Regions from separate parts of the Homo sapiens genome. Here region 1 is linked to region 2. The links are contacts of gene promoters, found by promoter capture Hi-C in human tissues and cell types (Jung and others, 2019). All regions are on one chromosome and are shown on one strand. The core of a region is centred on a gene start or on the middle of the fragment in contact, and the rest is flanking DNA. Distances in the headings are between cores, read along the strand shown.

Region 1 (7,363 bases), core at 1,672-4,171, 160 kb after region 2:
AACATATATATTCCCTTTCTATAGGAGTATCCTGCTCCACCTCTGTGATGGTTAATATTTCATGTCAACTTGATTAGATTGAAGGATGCAAAGTGCTGATCCTGGCTGTGTCTGTGAGGGCATTGCCAAAGGAGATTAACATTTGAGTCAGTGGACTGGGAAAGGTAGACCCACCCTCAATCCGGGTGGGCCCCATCTAATCAGCTGCCAGTGTGGTCAGAATAAAAGCAGCAGAAGAACCTGGAAAGACTACACTGGCTTAGTCTCCCAGCCTACATCTTTCTCCCATGCTGGATGCTTCCTGCCCTTGAACATTGGACTCCAAGTTCTACCTTCGACCACAGACTGAAGGCTGCACTGTTAGCTTCTCTACTTTTGAGGTATGACGGCATTATTGTATATTACCATAATACCATATGATACCCAAGAAATTTAACATTGATAGACCTATTATCTAATATACATTCCATGTTTAAACTTTCCCAATTATCCAATCATGTCCTTTATAGCTCTTTGTTCATTTTCTGATTCATAATCCAATCTGAGCTCAAGCATTGCATTTGCTTGTTATATATCTTTTTGGTCTCCTTTGGTCTGGAACATTCCCTCTACACACATATACCCTTTTTTGTTTTTTAAATCATTGACATTTTTAGAGGATACGCTATTTGAGGTAGGAGATCTTATAATGTGAATGTGTCTGATTAATATCTCTTTATTAGATTCAGGTCAAAGATGTTTGGCAAATACTACATAAGTGATGTTGTGCTCATCCCACTGCACTCCATCAAAAGCCACATAATGTCAGTTTGCCCCATTATTGGTAATTCTAAGTGTGGTCACTTGATTAAGGTGGCATCTGCCATATTTCTCCATCGTAAAAGTACTTCATTCGTTTGTAATTAATAAGTAATGTGTGGGTGTTACTCCAAGGCCATGTGAATATCTGCTTCCCCAAATTGTTGTTGTTTTTTAGTCGCTGCAATTATTGTAATCCCTCCCTTACAGATTCAAGCAGTAATCAGAAGACAGAGGCATGGTCTTCATTCACTTCACTCTCTCTGCAAATCCCATTTGGCACTGGTTAATGATAATGAAGCCTTTGGCACTTTTTTCCTATAGATGCACTTACAGGATAGAACTCCATTTCTAAAATGCATTCCACCAAAGCACAGTGAAAGCAATTACCAATACTCAATTACTCCAGCTTCACTCCATCACTGTAGATACTCTTAAATGCTATGCAAGGGTGGTTTTGAATATCCTGAATGTGGAAATTGGTTTACAATAACAAAGAGAGGCTCAGAAATCTTTGATGGCTCCCAAGAACTACCCGATACAACCCAAACTCCTTATCTGGCACTCAGGCTCAACCAGATCTGGCCCCAGCTCCCACCCCTCTCCCATGACTTCCCTACCTCTCGGACCAAACTGAACTTTTCTCTTCTTCTTCTACACCCCCATGCTTTTCCCTTGCCCATTCTGAATCCTCTGTCTTGAATGCCCTGATTCTCATCTTTCACAAGTGTTTGCTAAAGAAAAGAAAAAAAAAAGCTTCCTCCTTTTCTGACTTCTCTTAATCTGTGACAATTAGGGCCCTTGGTATCTAAATGGCACACTGAGCTTGTTTTCAGAACATCAGTGAAGTTCTAATACCAAAATATTTTTGAAACAATTTGATATCCAAAGAAAGATTTTTTAAACATTTAAGTAGTTATCATGGGAACAATTAGAACTGCTGGAATTGTTTTTATATATTCATAATTTAATATATTTTTATTTTGCATTACATTCAGGAAAGAGGGGAAGGGAGCACTGTGATTCTTAGGACCCAATACATCTTAATCTAGCCTTGGGTGAAAACTCTAAGAACAGAATTGGTGTTATTTCTCCCCTAGCCCCAGGCCTAGCATCATGTGCTATGCATGGTAACTGCTCAATAAGTAGTTACTGAACAATGGAGAGAAAGCTTGGAGTCACATCAATTGTTTGTGCTCCTTTGAAGACGGAATGACTTTCCCCCCTCTCCATGCCTCCAGTCATTTCTCCCTCAGCACATCTCATCAGAAATAAATAGAGGCCTCAGCCCTTTGTGCCTAGCCACTGGCAGAGAGCAGAGGACTGGCCACAGGCCTTTGGCCACATGCTGGCATATCTGAATTCAAGACCTTCACTGCCCTGTGATTAACACATGCGCTACTCCATCCTCTGTGGGAAACTGAAAGATCCTGTTCATGGTGACAATTGGAGAGCAATCTCCCTTCTTTGGCTATATCTGGGGTCACTCCCAGCACCACGCAGAAAGAGTATTTGTATAAGACACAGCATCGGTGGTCACATCCTCTGAGAAGCCTTCTGAGGGCAGGACCTTCCAGCAGAGCACCCAAGGTCCCTGGTTACAGCATCAGAACACTCCAGACACTTCACTATGGCCCAGTGAGTACCAACTACATGCAGATGCTGGCCACAGCATGGAAAACTCAACACAAGGGAAGACTCAGCTGCAGCCCAAAAGGAGCATTACCACCAAGTCACAGAGACCACGCTGATGGATCTGAAGCACCCAAGATTCACACAAGGCAATGTGACATGAAGGGTGTGGAAAGCCTCACAATAGGAAAACCACCTTTAATGGGAGCCCATATTTTGCCTGGCACTAAAGTACACAAACTATTTTAACATCTGCTGTCTCAGTATACTCTCCCAGGGGCCCTGTGAGAAGGGCAGGTCAGAAGCATTAAATATGAAACCAGGTAAAGCTCCCTACCCTGGGTCGTCTCTGTGATAAGGCCTCACCATGTTCCAACCTCTATTCAGGTCACTTCTGCAAACCTTCCATGAGTACAGCTCATTTCCAGGCCTTGTACCAGGCACTGGGCATGCAGAAAGTCCCTTAGAACACAAACTATATGCAAGGCACTCATGCCTTTAGAGATGCATTCCCTGCATTGGTGGTATAGTGGTGAGCATAGCTGCCTTCCAGAGATGCATTTCCTGGGTCTAACCTGGGGCTCAGTGCAAGAAATAGAAATGAAGGTGCCTGCCTTTAAGGAGTTATCCAGCTACTGTGCCACTTTTCACACCACCTTGTGTGACCTGTTGGCCCATCTATCTTTTCTTCTAGGCTGTGATCTTCTCTAGAAAATGGGATCTCTGTGACTCCAGGGCAAATCTCAGGGCTGGGCACATTGCAACATCATTTCAAAGCCAGGCTTCTGTGATAGTGGACAGTCCCAGAGCTCAGCCCTATATATGCATTCGCTGAGCTCCATCCTCAGGCTTTCAGGCTGCAGGCCTTCCTGACCCAGACTTCTGTGTACCACCTCTACATGCCTCTCTGTAGCTCTAACATGAGGATGGTGCCCGGACAGACACAACCGGCACTCTTTCCTCTCGGCGGGGCGTGCAGCTGGTACCGCCTTCCACTTGACTCCTGACAAAGACATGCAGCCTGCCAGGTGATGCAAGAGAGGGCCAGGCTGCAGCTGAAGGCCTTCTCTCCCGGGGGTTGTAAAAACAGGCTGCCCCTCCTTTTGGACTGAATGAGGTTTCTCGCTGTGAATAATGGCATTGAAGTATTCAAGGGCTGCATTCAGGAGCTGAATCATGGAATCCCAGCCAAAGAATCTGCTGAAGACTGAAGGGACCGGCTGTCCAGCTTCACGCAGGGAGGGCTCCTTGAAGCTAATTACTGCCACCAGGCCCTGGTCTCAGACCTTACACACTGGTCTGCAAAGAGCTACAGCTCAAGGTTGCTGTGTCCCCGCAGCCAAGGCTGAAGCATGACCTAGCCAGTCCCCTACAGCTAACAGAGCGACCCCATACATGTGATCCCCAGAATAGGCCCCAGACAATCCTGAGGAGACCTGGCTAATGCAGTGGTTCTTTACTTCTGAGCCACTCACCCCTCAGAAAATCTGAGAAAAGGCTTGGACTATCTCTCCAGAAAATGCATACATGTGCACACTGTGTTATGGAATGAAAGCTTCTGTTTCCACTAAAATTGATAGGTTGGAACCTAATCCCCAGTGTGATGATGTTTGAAGGTAGGGCCTTTGGGAGGTGATTGGATCATAAGGGTGGAGCCCTCATCAATGGTATATTGGTGCCCTTCTAAGAAGAGGCCAGAGAGCTCTCCCAGTCTCTTTTTGCCATGTGAGGATACAATGAGAAGTTGGCAGTAAACAACCCAGAAGAGGGCCCTCACCAGACCCGGACCACACTGGTACCCTGATCTGGGACTTTCAGCCCCCAGAACTATGAAAAATCAATTTCTGTTGTTTGTAAGCCATCCACTCTATGGTGCTTTGTTACAGCAGCTCAAACTGATCAACACATATACATATGTATATGTATGCATACCATCATATGTATACACATGTCTACATATATACACACATACATATGTTTACATGTATACATATACATACACAGAGTTACTCCCATAATTTTTACACATTCACAGATTCCCTAAAGCCCATCCAGAAGTCTAAGTTAAGAATTCTTTATTAAAGTCACCAAAGACGAAAGCCAATTTTTCCATCTGAAACCGCCTGCCCCCATGGGTTCAGGGCTGAGCCGTGTCTCCTGGGCAGGAGTAAAGGGTGAATTTAGCCCTAGGTCCAAGTGGCATGTGACCTCACACACAGTGTGGAGAGCAGTCTGTCTCATGATGGCCTGGCACTCTTGACCCCATCTCACAGCTGTCAGACTCCGCCTGACCCAGATCCGCCAGGAGGACAGACTGTTTTTCCTTGTGGAAATAGTTCATGGTGCTTGTCATTTACAGATTCTCTCTGGATTTCACTCAGAGATGGAGGAAAGCATCCAATCCTGTGGAAATTCTTTATTCTGAGTGCGGCAAAGAATTAGGAACAAGATGTGAAAGGGGGTCTGACCCTTATTCTCACATATATGGGGACACACACAGGTACACACACATAGTTTCTTTCTGAGCCCAGTGCTGTGACAGTAAATCAGCCATATCTACATTATAGCTCAGCCCAGCTCAGACCTTATCCAACCTAATTTTAGTGACAGGTTCTTCATCCAAATTGGCAGTTTGCACAGGGACTGTGTTTAGAAGGTGCTACGGAGAGTCTGGCGGCACCTGAGGCCTGGGCTCGTTATGTGCCTTAACACAGTGGTATTACCATGCTCTGCTACTCTCCTAACCCATCTATCACATGGACACCAGGACACACGGGTGCTGCCTAGAAAAAGGATGCCTCTCGACAAAGTCCCATAATGACACTAACTCCTCTCATCACTCAGGTGGCCCGTGTGTGTGATCTGTGTGTGTGTCTGTGTGCGTGGTACCTGTGCGTGTGCATCTGTGTACTTACACATACAGGCATGAAAACAGAAAAGGCACTGGATATTAAGTACAGATGAGACTCCATGTAGATTTCCCAACAGACAGACCCAGAACAACAGGCACCCCTCCCTTCTGGACCACAGAAATACATCTAGGGGAGAAAAGGGCAGCTGGATGAAGATGAGCTTGTAGTGTGGAGTCACGGACACTCAGACCTGGGCTCAAGTCCAAACTTGAGTGCTCACTCCCTGTGTGACCTTAGGGAAGGCACTGCATGTCTCTGAGCCTCAGTTCTTCTTCTGTAATATGGGAATCATAAACCTCCCTCCAAAGGCTGGCAGCAACAGATACGAGGCTTGAAGAAAAGGAATTAGCACAGTGCTTGGCACATTGCAGAGGGTTGATAAACATCAGTTGACTTCCTGTCCCTTGCTCTGTTCTGAGCAACTCCTGATTGAATCATTTTGGGAGAATCTGACTCTGGTTTTTCAACCCTCCACTGGCCACAGGGTCTATCTCTTTCAAAGACGTGGGTTGTCCTTCCACATCCCACAAGAAGCTGAGATTGGCACATCTCAAAGAGGACTTAGGCAATAAAACTAATAAAGCTGTGCTTCCCAGAATGGAAAGCCTTGCCCCATACCTCTGCATTATGATTGAACTTTGTCTTCTCTGCCAAGCCTCAAGCTCCTGTTTTTCAAGTAATCCAATCTGTTTTGTTCAAGACAAAGGACAAGAGGATTTTATGGAATGAGAAGTCAGTTTATTTCCCGGGACGTTTACATAGGTCACAGTAAAACAGTTTTATGTCTCCAATGACATTTCTTCTGGGACTGTTCAGGGGGAACATAATTTATTTATTTATTTTTTTTGTAAAGCTTTAAAGGTGGTTGTTCTTTTGTTGTAAGTGGGACTGAAATGTGTTTCTAGGCAGCTACAGGGAACTCACTCTGATGGGACTTCTAGGAAAAAAGGCACAAGGCTTGAATGGGTCACGGGTGGAAAATGGGGCAAACTACTGGTGAGCAGCTCAGACCCTGAGTGCTGGTTCCCCCCAAGGGCCAGGAGAAGCCACTGGGAGTGAGGGGACCCTGTTGCTGTGAGATGCCTTGTGATTACAGAGGAGGAGGCTGGAACAGAGAAGGGGGCTTTCTAAAATACGCTCACTTAAAGAGAAACTTGGACCCAAACCCATCCAATGATTCCCACATCACAGAAGAGGAAACTGAGGCTCAGAAACATGAAGTCACTTATCTAAGTCACACAGGGAGTAAGTGTTGGGGCCTATGCTTAAACCATATCTAGGTACTGGAGCTCCAAAACCCATGCTTGCAATTGCCTGCCCCAGGCTGGCCCTGCAGGGAAATCCCCTCTGAGTTGCAGGCAGAGGCTCCCCATTTGGAATAGCAGAAATGCTTTCCTTTACACAGCAGAATTCCTGAAGCCACCTCCAAGGAAGCAGCCTCCCTGAGCACTCCCCTTGTAATGACAATGGATGGCAGGCCTCCCTTGTGGCCAAGGGTCACCAATCCTGGCATCTCTGAGCGTGAATAAGAACAGCTGTTACACAGAGGAATCAGTTTTCTAAATGTGAAATTTCACATTTCCCATTGCTTGTCACCCATCGGATTGCAGCCACAAGCCACTAGTCCTGCGACCCCTTCCTACTCTTGCCCTACAAATGGAAAACTCAAGGAAACCATCAGTAGTTCAAATAGACTTCTACTTTTGGCCTGCCAGCTGACCTGTGCTCCCAGCTGCTTCCATCTGGCTGCTGGTAGAGGGACTGGAGGTTACAGAAGAGGCTGATGGCACCAAGACAGACTCAACTGAGTGGCAGCAGAGGCAGGAGCAACCAGAGCAGAGCAGGCTGGAGCCCAGAGCCTAAGAAGGTCCCAAGAGTGAGGGCAAGTGAAGGATCTGGACCAGGAGGCAGAGGTTTGGTTGCTCATGGGAGGATGAAGGACCAGGAATCCAAAAGTGGACCGAAACCAAGAGACAATTTAGCCATGGGAAAAGACAGATCCTATGAAGGAGAACAGCCAT
Region 2 (7,243 bases), core at 2,150-4,649:
AACACTCCCTGAGGATATGGTTTCCCAAGCCCTCTTCTTGCAATCAACACTTCCGAAGAGTCCTCTGTGTGGAATTGCTGCTTGGAAAAAAAAATGATGCTTTTTCTTGGAAGGTGTCCCTGAAGGGGTCTGAACATTTGGGTTAGCCCTAACAAACAGTTGAAGCAGTTCCTCTGTTTGAAAGGGATCCCTCATAACTATCAGAGGCAGCAGGATTCATTGGGCAGAATTCCAAGGAGAGACAAGCTGGGCTGGAATGTCTGGAAGCTTTCCATGAAGAAAAACTTAAAAGGCTGTTTTGCAGGAATCTGGGATTTGCTGAAACAGCTGCTTACCCACAGGAAACCCAGGGTCAAGTTAGAGGGGCAACAGTAATGTGTCATTCTCAGCAAACTGGCCCATCCCATACAGGGGGCCTGGCTTTTCCTTGGACCCAGTGCTCTGCCTATAATGACTGGGCCACAGGAGTTCAGGGAAGGACATTCCAGGAGGACTGCTTTGCAAATGTGTGGTCATTGAGACTAGAAGTTATCTTTAATGGTTCTGACCAAGAAGGGCTTATTCGTGGTTACCTCAAATCTCATATCAGCCAACAGGCCTGATTACTATTGTTCAAACTCAGGCCAGATGGGACTCAAGACAAGTTGGAAAAAGGAAGACGTCAGGCTCTGACATACAGGGGTTGGGAAACTGAGCCAGGAGTAGAGTGGTCTCCAAAGGTGTGGCAGAGACCCCTATTGCTCACTGACACCTGGGTGCTCCTCCATATTTCCCTGCACCCCTTGCAGTCAGGAGGGTGCAAATCGATGAGATGAGAGAGGACATGGCCTCTGCCACTTCCCGGGGAAGGCAGGTGACTATCCAGTGTGTCTCCTTAGGTGCACTTCTACTCCCCACCCCACCATCTGCTGGATGTTTAAGCCAGGGTGAACTTGAAGTTCAAAGATGCTGAACCCACAAGAGAAGCAATCAGAGTCCCCAAGTCACTACTTGGAGAAAAGCTGCACAGGAGAGCCTCCCAGCCAGCCTTCAGGGGACTGTGTGAGCAAAATAGGACATTTCCTGGGTAACCTCTATTTCCAGCAGTTCTGAGAGCTGCTGTTTCAGTCTGTGATGCTGCCAGTATGTAAAGAGGCAAGGTGACCAAAGAGGCATGGTCCCTGCAGGCACCAGTTTCCAGAGGTTCAATCTATTGTGTGGGGCTCATATGAGAAAGCTCCAGGTATAGGGACAGATGGAGTGTCTGGAAGGTGACCGCTTCCCAATTCCAGCTGATGAGTTCATTCAAAGCAGTACCCCACTAGAGGCTGAGGATGCAGGGAGCAGATCTAGCCCCAAGGGGTGAGAGAGGGAGCTGCAAGGGGCAGGCAGGACATTTGGACTCCTGCACATCGGGCTGCTGTGAGAGTTTGGTTCAAACTCAGAACCAGAGCAGAGGGCAGGAAACCAAGGGTGAAGCTAGCCAGGGTGGTAGAGGAAAGGTCCAGGTTTGAAGATGACATACAGCTCCAGGTTCCTTGGAAAGCCACAGACAGAAGCCCTGTGGCAACTCCACTTACGCAAGAGGGAGCCAGCTGGTGAGGCCAGGGCTGCAGCCAGACTCTTCCAACCCTTGTAAGGGGACACAAAATCTAGAAGGATCTGACCCTCACAGCTTCCCGATGCACAAGGCTGGGAAGGTAAGCTAGTTCAAGTCCAGGCATATCTATGGAACCAAAACCCTATAGAAGCCCCAAACTCAGAGACAGAAGTATTAGCAAGTTCCAAATCAGGGTCCCATTGACACCTGCGCTATCTACTGTAATCACTTCTTTGTTTTGAAATAGGATCTCTGGCCCCCATTACTGTCACTGGTGCTGCCAGAGAATGACAATGAGCTTAAATGTCATAGGGATTTGGGGAGCAATTTTCTTTTTTTTTTTTTTCAGCCTATTATAATTTTTTTTTATGACTGAACTACTATAAATCCACAAGCAACGGTTCAGACACGTTGCTTCTGAAGTGTTTCACCCCTCCCCGCCAGGCGCAAGCTGCATCAAGGAGGGGGTGGACTCCCCCACCTCTGCTCAGGCATCAGGAGACAGATAGGGCCGTTACTGCTGAGCGCCAGTGGCAGCTGGAACAGGCATCCCAAGGGGGTTGGCAGCAGCAATCACTGGTGAGCCTGCCAGAGGTCCAAGGGGTGAAGGAGTTGGCACTGAAGAAATCCCTGACATCACATTGGCGCTGCTGACGGGCGTACTGCCCCCTGGCATGCTAGATGAACCCATTCGAGCCTGGTCCTTCACAACAGTGTAGAAATAGGGGTGCTCCATGGCCTCTCTTGCAGTAAGCCGTGACTGGTGGTCATATCGCAGCAGTTTGTCCAGGAAATCCAAGGCCTCAGGGCTGACAAGGTGCTGATTTTCACTGTGGACAAAGCGTTCCCATCGCTTTCGAGAGTGTCTGCCCAAGATATCATTGAAACGTGGATCTAATTCAATGTTGTATTTGTCAATATAGCCATATAAATCTTCTGTCCCCAGAAACTTGGCTATCCTCACCAACTGATCATAATTGTCACGTCCATGGAAAAATGGCTCCTTCCGAAAGATCATACTTGCCAGCATACAACCCAATCTCCACATATCCAAACTATAATCGTACATCTGATAGTCTACAAGTAGCTCAGGACCTTTGAAGTATCGGGAAGCAACTCGGACATTATATTCTTGGCCAGGATGATAAAACTCAGCCAAACCCCAGTCTATTAGTCGTAGCTTTCTGTGCTCATGATCAATCATGACATTATGGGGCTTGACATCTCTGTGCATAATTCCCATGCTGTGACAATAATCCAGGGCCTTCAGAATCTCATACATGTAAAATCGAATATCATAGTCTGTTAACGTCTGGTACAATTGCTTGAAGTCTGTGTTGTTTACGTGTTCAAAAACCAAGGCGGGGGTTCGTGACACAGGGTCTTTTACAATGTCTGCCAGTGTGATGATGTTGGGACCTCCTCTCAAATTCTCCAAAATCTTTATTTCACGCTTAATTTTCTTCTTTTTTACTGGCTTGAGAATTTTAACAACAACTTTTTCATTATTTGTGATGTTGATGGCTTCAAATACTTCACTGTATTTACCTCGGCCTAATTTTCGAACCAGCTGGTAGTCATCTTGATTTCCCCATTCCACCACATGTGACTCGTAATCCCAGTATTCTCGAGGTCTGTGTGTATTAACATCTGTGTAAACTCTGGCCCTGCTTGGCACGGGTCCCGACATGTCAGACAGGTTGGCGGACAAAGCTGGACTTGATGTTTGGAGATCTGGCAGTCACTGTGTTCAGAAGCAGCTTGGGGGTAAGACCTTGTTTCAGACCTGTTTTCTTCACACTGTGGTGGAAGCGGCAGCGGCTGTGGCCGCTCTCCCTTCTGCTCACACAGACAATATGGCGGCGATGGAGTGGGGAGCAATTTTCTAAAATCCAAATAAAAACCTTCCCATCTCTAATCTGAGAGTCATTTTTATCAGCTAACTGGGCTCATCTATTTACTCAGCATATTCAGAGCCCTTTTTGGGGGTTAAGTCCCTTTCAATTGCTGTGAGGCACCGTCTCCTTGTGGACATGCTTGTGCTATCCAGCTGCTATTCAAAGCACATCTCCTGGACCATGTTTAATTTATACTTTCCTATATGAAGATGAACCACTTACTCACTTAAAGTATTTCTTTTTTTATGTCTCTAATCAGTGGCTGTTTCTTTCCTCTCTCTGAAGCTTAATCGAATCAGAAACAAATCCCACACATATGAATGGCTCATTAGCATGTCCCAGTCAGATTCAAATTGGCCGTCCATACCAGATGCCCCCAAAAGGATAACACTGGCCCAAAGAAGGACTCTTTAAACGAGTGTCCAAAGGGTGTTGCCATGATAAGCCAGGAGGGTTCTTTCTGAAATCCAGGGTAGATACACTCTGTCATTCCCAGCACCATAGAGCCAACTGATGGCAGGTAATGGATGTGTCATTGAGATGGGGTTGGTGGGAGGCAATGTGGCCAAGCCTGGGGAGCAGACATCAGAGGAATGTCTGGTGTCTATGTGTCTGGCTCAAGCATCATCCTCACACTTGGCTCAGTGGGGCCCTTTTATCAAATGATACAAATGAGGCTGAGATGCTGAACATTCTCTCGCTCAGAAATGATATTTGTTCTAAAGAGCTTCCCCTCTTAATCAAATGAAACTCAGATTATAAACACTGGTATGCTACATCTTCTCTTAAAGGATTTGCTCTTTTCATAGACATCAGAATGAATCGTCAGCATGGGCATCATCACTGGTGTCATCTCTGAAAGTCACCGATAGCAAACTCTCATTTAATACAGATTTACAAAAGAGATCAGCATACTGCAATAGAGTAGAACTGAAGGGAACCTAACCAGGACCTCCCTTCATTTCCCAGGTGAGCAAACTAAGGTTCAGGGTCACAGGATAATTTAGAAGCACAGTAAGATATGGATCCAAGAGCCTGCCTTTTGGAAGACAGGAAGTCATTATGGTTCAGAGCATAGCCTCTGGGGCCAAACAGTCTTGGTGTCAAGTCCTACATTTCCCATTTGCTGAACTGGTGACTTTAGGCAATTCACTTCACCTTCCAACACTCAGTTTCCTTGTCTATGAAATGGAGATAAAAGTGATAAATTCCAAAGATAGTTGCTGTGAGAATTAAATGAAGTAATACACAGAGACAGTTTATTTCATCACCTGGAAGAAGTTTAGAGGCCCCTAAGTATCAGCTATAATTATTATCACTATAATATTCCACTGATGATAAGATTCACTATTGCTATACCACAGCTTTTCGGGACAGGGGAAAACACACTACATTCCTCTGAGCTCAAGATTTATATACCCAAGTGCCTACGTCTCACCTTCACTCTCATGTGTCTCAGGCATCTCAACCTTACCATGTCCAAAACGAAGTTCCCGATTTTCTTCCCTGCCTCCCCATCTGTCCCTTAGTCTGCCCCTCATCCATCTAATAGCCGAAGCCTGTAACCTGTAATTCATCTGTAGCAATGTCTTCTTCCTCCCTCTCCACATCCAATACATCGGCAAAAGCAGACAGTTCTACCTCCTAAATATAGCTTGAATTTAATCACTTCTCTCCATCTGCACAGCCAACATCCTGGTCCAAGTCCCTATTATTTTTGTGTGGGCATCTCCATCCAGAGCCTCTTCCCTGGTCTTTCTGCGTTGTCGTGTTGCCCTTCAATCCGTATTGCCCTCCAATCCACTTTTTAAAATTATACATCAGAGCATGTCCCTCCTCTGCTTTAATGCAGTTCAGCAATTATTTACTGAGCACTTACTATGTGCCAGTCTTTGTTGTAGGAGATGGGAATCTTACCACAGAACAAAATATAAAAAATCCCTGACTTTCTGATACTTACACTGTGTTTTTTCTGTTACAGCACTCCCTATGGACTGAATTGTCTCCCCCTTCCTCAAATTCATATGCTGAGGCTGTAACTCCCCATGTGACTATATTGGAGATGGGGCATTTAAGGAGGTGATTAAACATGCACAAAAAATTCTCAGTAGAATGACCATATGTTCTGGTTTGCTGGGGACTATTCTGGTTTATACCTAGTGTTCCACTGTTATTAGTAGCACCCCCTTTCACTCGCAAAAGCTTCTAGTTTGGACAGTAAATTAAAATTTATTTACATATTTATTATTTATTTATATATGCCAAATGTATAAGGTCCAACCTGATTTTAGAAACACTGAAATCCCAAATAAGTATCTGTCTTAAAATCATGGTCTTACTAATCTTTTCCCTCCCCTAGTCCATGATTTCTCTATATTACTACAATCCTAGTGTGGTGAAAATTAAGCAAGTCATCAAGACCCTCACCTCCTGATGTGCAGCATTTGAAGCAGGCCTGAGGAATAAAACAGAGCACCCCACCATTCAGTGCTCCAGAGACCAGAGCCCTGTCTCTTGAACTTTCCCAAACTAGACAGACAGAAAGAGAGAGAGGCAAGACCTAAAGGAGTGAATGGTGTTCCTGGGCCATTTACACCAGGGGTTAACTCTTTATTTTCAGGACTGACTTTGTATACAGGTAGGCTTTGTTTTATAGAAAAACTTGTGTGCAGGGGTAATTTCTGGATACCAAACTTTATAGAAAAACTTGTGTGTAAGGGTAATTTCTGGATACCAGCACCTACAGCACTAGAAAAAAATGTGCTCACAGGTACCCTGCCCTTTGCATTGCTTTACAAAGCCAAGAACATTTGTATTTGGAGATGCCCCTGACCCCTCCTTCTGCAACTTCAGATTTATGAATATCGGATCTTGTCCAAGGAAAACCACAGCAGTGTCAGAGGAGGAGGAGAAGGAACCCTTGCTCAGTTTGTGGCAGTTCTTCTGAGGAAATGATTCTGGCCTTGCTTGGTGGTCTCTTCCAGGAAAACTAGAATAACAATGTAATGGTGGCCAAGAAGCTACCTTCCAGGGTCTGATACCGACCAGCATGCAGACTCAGCTAAAGAAGAACAAAGAACAAAAATGGAAACAAAAGGGAGACAGAAAATGACTCTGGGGAGCTTTAACATACATTGTGAGCTTCCAGGTTTCTTTGGCTTTTGTTTTTGCTTTTTTCCAAAATTCAGGAAATTAAACATTGATACATGACTATTATCAAATCCCCAGTCTATAATCAAAGTTCACCAATTGTCCCAATCAAAGCCTTTATAGCTATTTTTCCCCTTCATCCAAACTTTTTAAGAAGGTAAAAATTTCCTTCAGGTTGACTCCCCAAATCCTTCATCAATTGTTACCTCGTTTGTGCATGTTATTAATCTCTCTTTTATACAGCTCCCTCATTGAATGCAATTGAAAAAACCAAAGTGTGAAGACCATTCCTGAGTAAAATTGTTCTTGGGCACTCTCCTTCTGCTCCCCACCATTTCTAGCTAATCACTTCATTATGTACTTTTTAAATTGCTTTGTTCTGTAGGGATTAATTTTGCACTTATCTTCACTAACCATAAAACTTTTACAACGTACTTTTAAACTGCGTCTACTCAGCTGCTGGTTTGTAATTGCAAAGAGTCACTCCACGGCTGGCTGGTGTGCTAGGGGATAACACGCAATAGCCACGGAGCTTCCTGCTCCATGTTTTCAGATGCCTTCCTGGAGCCGCTGGGTATGGGGCAGACCAATTGGTTCTAGACTGGCTGCTTGGGGT

What was found. Contacts are between HindIII fragments. The study calls those that stand out against the background at their distance.
Region 1: a contact is called between a fragment that was not itself captured here and the fragment with the promoter of CSNK2A3 in region 2, in 3 of the 25 tissues and cell types used here (dorsolateral prefrontal cortex, hippocampus and pancreas).

The regions. Positions count from the first base shown.
Region 1 is chr11:11,507,619-11,514,981 of GRCh38, forward strand. The region is part of intron 1 of GALNT18 (polypeptide N-acetylgalactosaminyltransferase 18); the gene reads right to left. Among named protein-coding and RNA genes, the nearest start is that of GALNT18-AS1, 59 kb to the right of the region's middle. RefSeq lists an enhancer at 1,717-2,218. The HindIII fragment of the contact is 4,338 bases long and covers 753-5,090 here.
Region 2 is chr11:11,349,851-11,357,093 of GRCh38, forward strand. It overlaps CSNK2A3 (casein kinase 2 alpha 3), which reads right to left and starts at 3,400. Exons shown (of 1, transcript NM_001256686.2): 1 at 2,092-3,400. The coding sequence starts at 3,269. The coding sequence ends at 2,094. All of the region lies in intron 6 of GALNT18 (polypeptide N-acetylgalactosaminyltransferase 18), which reads right to left. The HindIII fragment of the contact is 7,765 bases long and covers 1-4,720 here.